Regions from separate parts of the Homo sapiens genome. Here region 2 is linked to region 1. Evidence: promoter capture Hi-C in 16 types of primary human blood cells and fetal thymus (Javierre and others, 2016). All regions are on one chromosome and are shown on one strand. Each heading gives the region's core, a stretch centred on a gene start or on the middle of the fragment in contact. The rest is flanking DNA. Distances are from core to core; before and after follow the strand shown.

The links. The method cuts DNA at HindIII sites, captures the fragments that hold promoters and counts their contacts. A CHiCAGO score of 5 or more calls a contact.
Region 2: a contact is called between a fragment that was not itself captured here and the fragment with the promoter of KRTAP17-1 in region 1, in 3 of 17 cell types (non-activated CD4 T cells, total CD4 T cells and naive B cells). The highest score is 5.7, in non-activated CD4 T cells.

What each region holds. Positions count from the first base shown.
Region 1 is chr17:41,312,575-41,317,850 of GRCh38, forward strand. It overlaps KRTAP17-1 (keratin associated protein 17-1), which reads right to left and starts at 3,136. Exons shown (of 1, transcript NM_031964.2): 1 at 2,338-3,136. The coding sequence starts at 3,076. The coding sequence ends at 2,759. The HindIII fragment of the contact is 4,540 bases long and covers 2,064-5,276 here.
Region 2 is chr17:41,106,751-41,112,026 of GRCh38, forward strand. LOC124904002 (a long non-coding RNA gene) reads left to right here and starts at 1,482. Exons shown (of 2, transcript XR_007065754.1): 1 at 1,482-1,629; 2 at 3,254-5,276. The HindIII fragment of the contact is 4,149 bases long and covers 628-4,776 here.

The DNA of each region.
Region 1 (5,276 bases), core at 1,886-4,385:
CACCATGAGGGCAAGGACCTTGTCTATTCACAGATGCATACCCAGCATCCAGAGCAGCAGCTGATACATTGGAGGCACACGATTAGCATTTATTGAGTGAATAAATGAGAACCTCTGTGGATAGCTAAGAAGGGCAAGCCTGTATCAGTAATTCAAAAATCACTACCGCCACACATGCATCCAGGAGGCATGACCGTGCGCAATAGAATAATCAGCTGCTCTGAATCACAACTACTCAGTGCAGATTCACTGGTCTCTGGACAAGTGTGTCCCATTGGCAGCTCCTGCTTTGGCGGTGGCTTTGTCTTAGGGGTTAAAGAGCCAGTTCCTAGGAAGCCAGTTCCAGCCAGAGTGAAAATGGCTCAAATAGTAGAGTCCGAAACTGAACCAAGGCAGAGTCAAATCTCAGGTTCTCTCCAAAAGAAGACATTAATAATACTGCTGGGTTCATAAATGAAAGAAAAAAATGAAAACACAATGAGCTACCACTATACACCTGCTGGAATGGCTAGAAATAAAAAGACTGATAATATTAAGTGTTACCAAGGACATAGACACTGGAACTCTCAGACATTGCTGGTTGGAATACAAAATGCTGTGGCCACTTTGCAAAACAACTCGGCAGTTTCACATAAGGTTAAGCATTCACTTACCATTTAAACAGCCATCCAATTGCTAAGTATTTATCCAAAACAAAGCATATGTTCACCAAAAAAAAAAAATTGTACGAGAATGCTCATAGCAGCTTCATTCATAATAGCCAGAAACACAAAAGAATCCAAATGCCCATAAGTAGGTGAATATATTTTTAATGTAGTTTATCTGTATAATGGGATGCCATTCAGTAGAAAAAAAAATGAATTATTGATACCTGCAACAATGAACAGATACAAAACATGATAGGCAAAATGAAAAATAGTGCATACTGCATGATTTCTTTTATATGAAATTCTAGACATGGTGAAATCTGTAGTAACATAAAGAACAGGTTGATGGTTGCCAGGGTCTGGGGGTGGGGGAAGAACTGACTGCAAAGACAAACTGGGAATTTTGGGGGTGATGGAAAGTTCCATAAAGATCTTGAGTGCAGTGGTGGTTACATAAGTATACACGAATGTCAGATCACATCATACTGTTCACTAAAAATGGGAACTTTTTATTATATGTAAATTATATTTCAATAAAGTTGACCATAAAAAATGAAACAAAAAAATTTTTTAAAGAAAAAGGTAAAAGCAACATAATCCCAGTTTTATTCATAACTATGCTTAGAAAACAGTCTGGAAAGCTTATCAGTAATAGACTCTGAGTGGTGAGCCTTCGAATGCTATATTCTTTATATGTTTCTGTATTTTTTCATTTTTTAGAGTTCATTGCTATGCTTATAATCAGAAAAAAATTTTTCTTTGTCAAATGAAACATCGCTTTGTAGGCATAAAAATAAATACTATTTTTCCAGGGCAAGAGCAAAATTAGTTTTATTACACACACAGCTTAAGGTCACTTTCAACAAAAGGTTGATCAACTGTCTTTTGAGTTTTAACCTCCCAGGTGGACCCACACACCTTGGCTGGGCCCTACCTAGCAGAGGTATACTCACTCCCTCCTCCTTAGAACTCAGGCAGAAGAAACGTAGCTGGTTCCAGGTAAGACAACCTAGCACAGAAAAGTGAGACTGGACCAAGCATGAGGCTGGAAGAAGGAACTGTACTGCGCAGAACATCCTCAGAAACTGTGAATTCACTAGCTTTGCCATTAGAAATCCTTTCCATTCAGAACCAATCTTGTTTTACCAAAGCCTCCTTTCCGACTTTGCCAGAAAGTTCTGATCAAGCCTGAAGCCCTCCTGCAGAACCATCCTAGGAGAGCTGTAGTGCAGAAGAAAGCCATGCCCCTCAATCACCATTAAATGTGGCCAGCATCAGCATTCACCCAGGAGCTTTTAAAAATGCAGGTCCCTAGGGACTCTAGGCCCTAGAGCTAACGGGTAAAATCTCCAGTGATAAAACCCAATGATCTATATTTTTAAAAGCTTTTCAAGTGAATCTCATGCAGCACACGGAAGCTTCCGTCTAGATCTATGGTTCTCAAACTTCAGTGCATAAGAATTATCTAAGGTTCTTGTTAAAAACACAGATTCCCAGGCCACACTTTGGTGGATTCTGATTCTGTATGTCTTAGGGAGGGCCTCAGAGTCTCCAGTTTTAACAAGCTCCCAGGTGATTCCGACGCAGGTGATCCAAAAACCACAATTCAAAAACCCTAAGGCAGATGCCAGAGTGAATTTTTCTAACCCAGTCCTCAGCAGGGAGGTCAAGGAAGAGGCAAGAGAACTAATTAGGTTATGCCAGCATGCTCAAATTTATTAAGAGGCTCACAAAGAAGATGGACCTTTTTTGCATCTCAAAGCTGCAGAAAGCCAGGGCGGAGGATCAGTCCCAAAGACACCTTGAAGAAGAGGATGTCTTATAGTACAAGACATTGAACTTCATGTGAATAAGTAAAGTATTGGGGATTCACCCTTGAGCTTGGGATCACTTAGTTGTGACCGAGTTTTAATGTTTCATCAGAGTATGGCTCTTGTTCTCGGTGCCTTGAAATACCAGAGAAGGTGTTGGAGAACAAGCCCTCCTCTACAAATCACAGAAAGACAAGACACTGTCTTGGGGGTATGGAAGGTTCTGGACACGAGGGGCTGTCCCCCTGGAGCAGATGGAGGCTTTCGGTGGGACTGCATCAGTGGTGGAGGGAAAGGTCTTCATTTTGTGTCGCATATAGGTGTGGGCTGGCAGCACACAGGCCCACAGCACCCGGAGCCGCAGCAACTGGACCCACAGCAACTGGATCCACAGCAGCCACCCCCGCAGCCTCCGCAGCCTCCACAGCCTCCGCAGCCAGATCCACAGCAAGACGATCCGCAGCAGCTGCCCCCGCAGCCAGAGCCCCCGCAGCCAGAGCCCCCACAGCCACAGCAGGAGCCGCAGCAGCCACAGCAGCCCGGCTGACAGCAGCACTCTTCACAGCAGTTTTGCTCCTGGGTGCAGCAGGTGAAGCAGTCCCCCGGGCAGCACCCCATGGTCCGGGCCCGTCAGCTCGCAGGTCGGTAACGCAGCCGGAGTTCCCCACGACTGACGGTGGCCAGCCATCTGGATGGCAGCTTTTATATCCCCTCACCCAGGCATGAGGGACGGGATGTTTTCTTTGTTATTATTTATGCAAGTTTCCATAAGACCGGCTCATTAACTGGCTGTTTATTTTCCAGTCCTGAGTACCTCAACTCATAAAAACGCCCCACTCCTGCCAACTGCTGTTTATCCAGAGGGTAAAAATACATCTTCGAAAAGACCTGTCATCATGGCCAAGCATCTGCCAGCTGTCATTAGCCCAGGTTGGAGATGGGAAGGGGAAGCCGGCCACAGCTTCTGGCTCTGGAATGAGGGGCTTGCCTTCCACATCTTCGCAGGTTGGCGATGGACCCCATCTTCCATGGATGCTAGTCCTGGAAAGGCAGACCGGCAACAGCCGAATGCTCTGTTCCCCCTGACACCAGTGGAGGCTACTGAGAACGCCTGGTCACGTGGCTCCTCCCAGGTGGAAATGGCATCCTCATCCCGGTTCATGTGAGCCAGGCAAATGTTTGTGTCTGTGTGTGGTATGGGGAGTGTGCCACACGTTTAGGCTTGGCCGGTGAGCATCAGTCATGAGTAATAACTGCCCTGTGAAACCGAGAGAGACTCATCGTAAAGCTGCAAGAAGCTGGTAAGGCATGGTCTGTCTCGGCGGCAAGGTGAGCTGAATATTCGCACTTCTCTCTAAATAGGTGGGAAGAACTGAGATCAGAACCCTCTACCCACCCCCACTCCAGCCCCAGGCCTTTCCTTGACCGGGGAAGGAAGAGATGCAGGAGGAGGAAGAAGAGGAGAAGGGGAGGAAGAAAGGAAAGAAGAAAAGAAAGAAGAAAGCAGGAAGGAGATCAGTAAATATCCAAAATGCTACATTAAAATGGGAATGTAACGCACTTTTTTTAAGAGTTCGAACCTTATAGACCATCTGGCAGAAGGAGAAATTAGAATACAAAATACCCAGAGTGTCATCCCAAGGAATAAAATGCCTTTGCAAGGAGTCTAAAATCTACAGATGGTTCAGGTCCATGTGTAAATTTTGAGATGGGTCAAAATTTCTGTCTCTTTCTTGGACTTTGGTACCTTGTTCTCCTCTTGGAGTGCCCATGGCAGCCCTGGAGCTGGAATACAACATCTAGTAGGGGTAGAGGACAGAAGATAGGGGTGGGGTGGGAATGGAAGGAGGGATGGGAGTAAGGATCTGGATCAAGGGATCTAGTCCTTCCCTTTTCATTTCCCTTTCTTTGTAAGATGGGCTAGAAGTAAGACAGCCTCTAAGAAGGGCTAGAAGAACTAAGGACAGGGTGGGAGTCGGGAGGGTAAATGATGAATGAGTTACTTGGATCTGATATGATACTCAATACTTCACAGGATATGGAATTTTAGAGCTGGGAGGAACCCCTGAAACATCATCTGGTCCAGGGTTTTATATCAGAATTGCCTAAAAGGGGGCCTTTTGAAAAATACAGATTCCCAAACTGTATTCCAGTCCTTATGATAAATCAGAATGTGTGCTTATGAGAGCTTGAGAAGCTATATATTTTAAACTTTCTCAGGTAACTTGGGTTACATTAGGAAACACTGATATAATCTAATCCTATCATGACCATCACTGCCAAGCACTTGTGTTTTACAGAAGATGATACCAAGGCCCAGAGATGACACATCCGTGGTAGATTGGACCCATGGCCCAGATGTTCTCCCTCCTGGTCCACTGTTTCTTCCACCATACCACATCCACAGATGGGCACCTCTGAGTGAGTATAATACAGCAATGTCTATGGCAGACGTGTCCTTTTTTGTTTGTTTGTTTGTTTTTTTGAGATGGAGTCTCACTCTGCTGCCCAGGCTGGAGCGCAGTAGCTTGATCTTGGCTCATGGCAACTTCCGCCTCCTGGGCTCAAACGATGCTCCTGACTTAGCCTCCCAAGTACCTGGGATTACAGGCACGCACCAACAAGCCCAGCTAATTGCTGTATTTTTAGTAGAGACAGGGTTTCGCCATGTCGCACAGGCTGGTCTGGATCTCCTGACCTCAAGTGATCTGCCCGCCTCGGCCTCCCGAAGTGCTGGGATTACAGGCGTGAGCCACTGCACCCGGCCGACACATCCTTTTACATATTTATTTATTTTAATAAGAGGTCAAGCATTCCC
Region 2 (5,276 bases), core at 1,452-3,951, 210 kb before region 1:
TTTATCTTTAACACATTATATCTCATAATACTATCGTCCCTGTTTTGACAAAAAAGATAAAACCAAATTTCTGAAAATTAGACACCAATGAAAGAAGGGAAATCTTCTATAAAGAATTTCATGTACTGAATTCATTTTACTCAATAACAACATTTTGGAATTTATAATCAAAAAGTGGGCTTTATTTCCCAGTGAGTTCTGCTGAGACAAAAAAGCATATTGAGCTGTAGTTCATCTGGATAGCATGGTATATTGCTGACTGTGGTCTCTACGGGTTTACATTATAATTTAAACAACTCCACACTTAACATTTTAATATATATAAACCCAGAAAGGATGAAAATTTCAAGGCTCGCTTTTCTTTTTAAGAATTATTTTATTGGAATTAGTTCAGTCTTGAGTAGGTCGCAGCTGGGGTGCATATCCTAATTAGAATTTCCAAGAGAGGTGCCTTCATTTGAATCTGAAAGAATATGGTAAGTGACTATAACTTGGCATTCTAGTAGGAGCACCTGCTCTTGATGTTTTTACTTTTATTTGACTATTATCAGCTCTGAAATGGCCTTAAGCTATTGAGCCAATCAAGTTTAAGATGATTTGTTCAGATATGTTCAAATATGAAAAATAAGCTTCATATTTTTTCAGATGCCTTAAGAAAAATGTTGTCCAGATCTCAGTCATAGAGTTATGATGCCTTCTTAAACATGAGGCAGGATAAATAAGGTTAGGAGGCTGTGAAAGTAAAATAAATATTGGGGCCCCCAAATCACTAAGCTAAAGGGAAAAGGCAAACTCGGAACTGCTTAGGACAAACTTGCCTCTCATTCTATTCAAAGTCACCCCTCTGCTCACTGAGATAAATGCACTGATTGCCTCCTTGGGAAAGGCTAATCAGAAACTCAAAAGAAGGCAACCATTTGTCTCTTATATACCTATGATCTGGAAGCCCCCTCCCAGCTTCGAGTTGTCCCGCCTTTGCTTCGAGTTGTCTTGCCTTTTCTGGACCAAATCCGTGTTCATCTTACATATGTTGATTGATATCTCATGTCTCCCTAAAATGTATAAAACAAAAGTGTTATCTGACCACCTTACACACATGTCATCAGGACTTCCTGAGGCTGTGTCACCGGAGCATCCTCAACCTTAGCAAAATAAACTTTCTCAATTAACTGAGACCTGTCTCAGATTTTCTGGGTTAACATTTTGGTAACTGTGAAAGGATTCTGAGTGGAGATGCCCTTGACCTTTGACGAATATCCTGTTGGTGCCTGGTAATAGCATGAGCTAACTTTATGGCTCAAATCAATAGGACAATTTGCTGAGGTCTGGGAGCACCCTCCCCAAAGAATCCCTGATCTCCCCAAATTTGGTGAAGAACTAAAGTTCATTTTGCTGTACAACTGCCCCACCTATTTTTGTTTTTGGAGTTTTACTTGCTTACTTGCCTTCCTTATAAGGAAGGCAAGATTTACTTTTACTTCCTTTACAAGGAAGGCAAGATTTCCTGCTTCCATGATGATGAAAGGCATGTAGAGTTTGAGCTCACTCCCAGCAGGGAAGACCAGTTTGAGTTTTTTTCCTGCTTCTAGGGTGGTAGAAAGCAGCCTTCAGCCTGAGACCCATCCCTAGGTAAGTAGCTGAACTGGGGCTTTGTCTGGGCTAAAGTTTAACAACCAGCTAGCTGCTCTTAATTTCTCCTTATCATTAGAGTGCTTGGTAATCCTATGGTTGGAGATTTTGTTGTTTGTTTTGGTCTTTCTCCCATCAGACTTGACCAACTCTACCTGACTTGGTCAAATCCAAGTGAGAATTCAAAATTACGGGTAACAAAACCTCTCTAATTTGGCTAAAATTCATTGCAGCTGCAAAAGAAGAAAACAAACAAAAAGAACCAAAAACCCATGCACTTGGTTTCTGTGTTTGCTTCCTGTCTTAAAACACGAATGTTCTTTCGTTTACTTTTCTTGCACCATATACCTCCTCCCCCTTTGCCATATGCAGTACCAAAAAGTCTAGAGAAGGCTTCTAATGACTTGAACCCCCTTAAAGAATTCAGAACAAAGGTTGCCACTCACCCCTTTTGGGGTGTTTTGTTTTCTTTGTGGAGTTTCAAGAGTCATGGGTAGATTCTTCTTAACTCTAAACCTCTATTTTCCTGTATTGCATGACCTGACCTCTTTGGCTTTGACCTTGTTGTGTATAGTGGTAGATGAGAGCTACAAAGTTAAGGGGTGGCTGAGCAAGGTTTACAAAAAGTGGTCTTGGCTGTTGTTTTGTTTTCCTTCTAGGAATTTGTCGTTTAAAGATCCTAATTCTAGTTCACAAATGCATTCTAAAGGATCTTCTCTGTTGCTTTTTCTCCCCAAATTAAGCTCAATTCAGCTTGTCTGTGTGCATTTGCATGAGGAACTGAACTGTTGTTTTCAGTGGTGACCCACTGTGGAGTCCTGCCCACAAATGGCACATATTGATCCACCACAGAAAACCTCTAGGCCTCAGCTCAGTTCCTCTTTTTAAGAAGAAAACTGGGAAACAAATAATCTAAGAATGAGGAGAAAGCAAAGAGAATGATTCCCTTTCAAGCACTCCATAGGTTTTATGGCACCTGTACTTGCCAGAGTTTAAGTAAAATGGAAGTAATATGGTCTTTGTGCATATTTACATTAAGAAAGAAAGGGCCCATGTAAATTAGTTCAACCATTGTGGAAGACAGTATGGTGATTCCTCAAGGATCTAGAATCAGAAATACCATTTGATCCAGCAATCCCATTACTTGTTATATACCCAAAGGAATACAAATCATTCTACTATAAAGACACAGGCACATGTATGTTTATTGCAGCACTATTTACAAGAGCAAAGACATGGAACTAACCCAAACGCCCATCAATTATAGACTTGATAAAGAAAATGTGGTACATATACACCATGGAATACGATGCAGCCATAAAACGGAGTGAGATCATGTCCTTTGTAGGGACATGGATGAAGCTGGAAACCATCATCCTCAGCAAACTAACACAGAAACAGAATACCAAATACAACATGTTCTCACTCATATATGGGAGTTGAACTTTGAGAACACATGGACACAGAGAGGAGAGCAACACATATCAGGGGCTGTTGGGGGGTGGGGAATGAGAGGAGGGAATTTAGAGGATGGGTCAATAGGTGCAGCAAACCACCAAGGCACACATATACCTATGTAACAAACCTGCACGTTCTCCTGCATGTGTATTTCATTTTTTTTTAGAAGAGAAAGAAAAGAAGGAAAGAAAGCAAGCAAGCAAGAAAGCAAGCAAGCAAGAAAGAAAGAAAGAAAGAAAGAAAGAAAGAAAGAAAGAAAGAAAGAAAGAAAGAAAGAAAAGAAAAAGAAAGAAAAGAAGAGCCTTAAGGTCAACCTACAAACTACAGAGTTCCTAAGTTCTCTTTTTTCTCTATTTTCTTTTCTGCCTGCTTTAAATCTGCTGTTATTTTTCTATTAAGATCAAAACCACTGTTTGGATACAACAGGCTTTTTGTTTGCAACCTGGTGAATTTGTATTTGTCTCATGGCTAAAGTTCTGAAGTAAAAGCTATAGGATTTCTGTGTGTGTGTTTGTGTGTGTGTGTGTGTGTGTGTGTGTATCTATTTAAAAGGCCTTTATAATTTTTATAATTTTATGTTTAATTGGCAATTAAATCCATTTTGACTTCCCTCTAGCACCACCAGACTTTTTCTCTCTGTACCTTATGATATAATTTTGCTATTTGATTTTTGCCTGAGTTGTTTCCTTTAACATGCAAACTTAAGGCTATTTAGCTGACAACTCCCTAGGGGAGTAAAACAGGTTATTAAGAATTTGAAAGCCTAAGATAGGGGAAAAAAGCTCCTTAAGTATCTATACGATGTACTTCTATCAGCATGCCTACTATGTCTATATATTTATGTGATGTGTACACAATTTCTCGCTACTGAAAATATATAAAAGAGTTCTAATTAATTGGCTTAAGATAAAAAGCACTTGAATCTAATACTTTATCAGGAAAAAAGAAAAGACTAGTTGAATGCTTTCTGAAGTTTATGTAACAAGTAAAATCTTTAATAAATAAGCTAGCTTTAAAATTATTGGTAAAGTAATATTAGACATGTCTTAAAAATTGCCAGCATGCATTTTTGTTTGCATTTATTAATCAAGCAATTTCATGCTTATCCCTGTCAAATACCATAAGGTGTCAAAATTTGCCATGGAGTTACAAAACTGTAATAGAATGATCTTTGCTTGTATAATCTTTAATAAATAAGACATTGATATTGGTTTAATAAAAATAGTCACATCTTGAATTTAGTGAGATTACTGTAACTTCTAATTTTGTGGTTTTGGTGGTCTAGTCCACAGGCAGTAAGATTTAGTTTGAGAATGAACTGTTATAATCTTTGTTTCAAAGGTAAACTATAAACTATGTTCCTCTCAACGTCTGTTCAGCCTGTGCCCAGGATTGAACAAGAACAGTTTGGAGGTTAGAAGCAAGATGGAGTCAATTAGGTCAGATCTTTTTCACTGTCTCAGTTATAATTTTGCAATGGCAGTTCCATAACTTTAAATGATGACTATTGCAGTTTTCATAAATAATCTAGGTAAACAATTCCTTTTTAAAAAGGTGAACAATTGTCATCTAATTCAATGCTTATTTAAAGATTATGTATAAGACAAGTTAAAAGGAACCAGGAAATCAGAGAGATGTAAAGAAAGGTATAAAAATAAAGAGGATAAAGAGGGTTCTTTTTGGTAAGGAAGCTTAAAGAGAAATAATTTCATATGAGAAAAGATCTTGTATGGTAAATTTAGACCTAAAATAAAATGATTGTTTAAGAAAGATGGATGTTCAAAACAAACCAGAAAGTCCAAGCATATCATGAACAGTCTGTAAAAGTCATAATAAGAGGATTAAAAAAAAAACCAACAAACTTTTATATGGTCAAGTTGTCTGTAATTAAAAGGAAATTATAATAGTCTTCCTGAAGATTGGGCTTCATGTAAAAAAAAAAAAGCAATGATAAACAAAATAGTTAGAGCGATGAAATTTTCTTAAGGGATTGATTTACTCTTATTAAATTATAAGAGATTTTAATTTTTTTAACCCAAAGTTCAACTGTTTACTCGCTGTTTTCTCTCCCCTTCAACTCGTTTGCAGCTCATATAAGTTATTTTCCTTAAATTCTATTTGTTATGGTCTGATGCTAACAATGTTTTCTAAAAGTCTAAAGAAAATGTTTTCTTCCAAAGTAATATTCT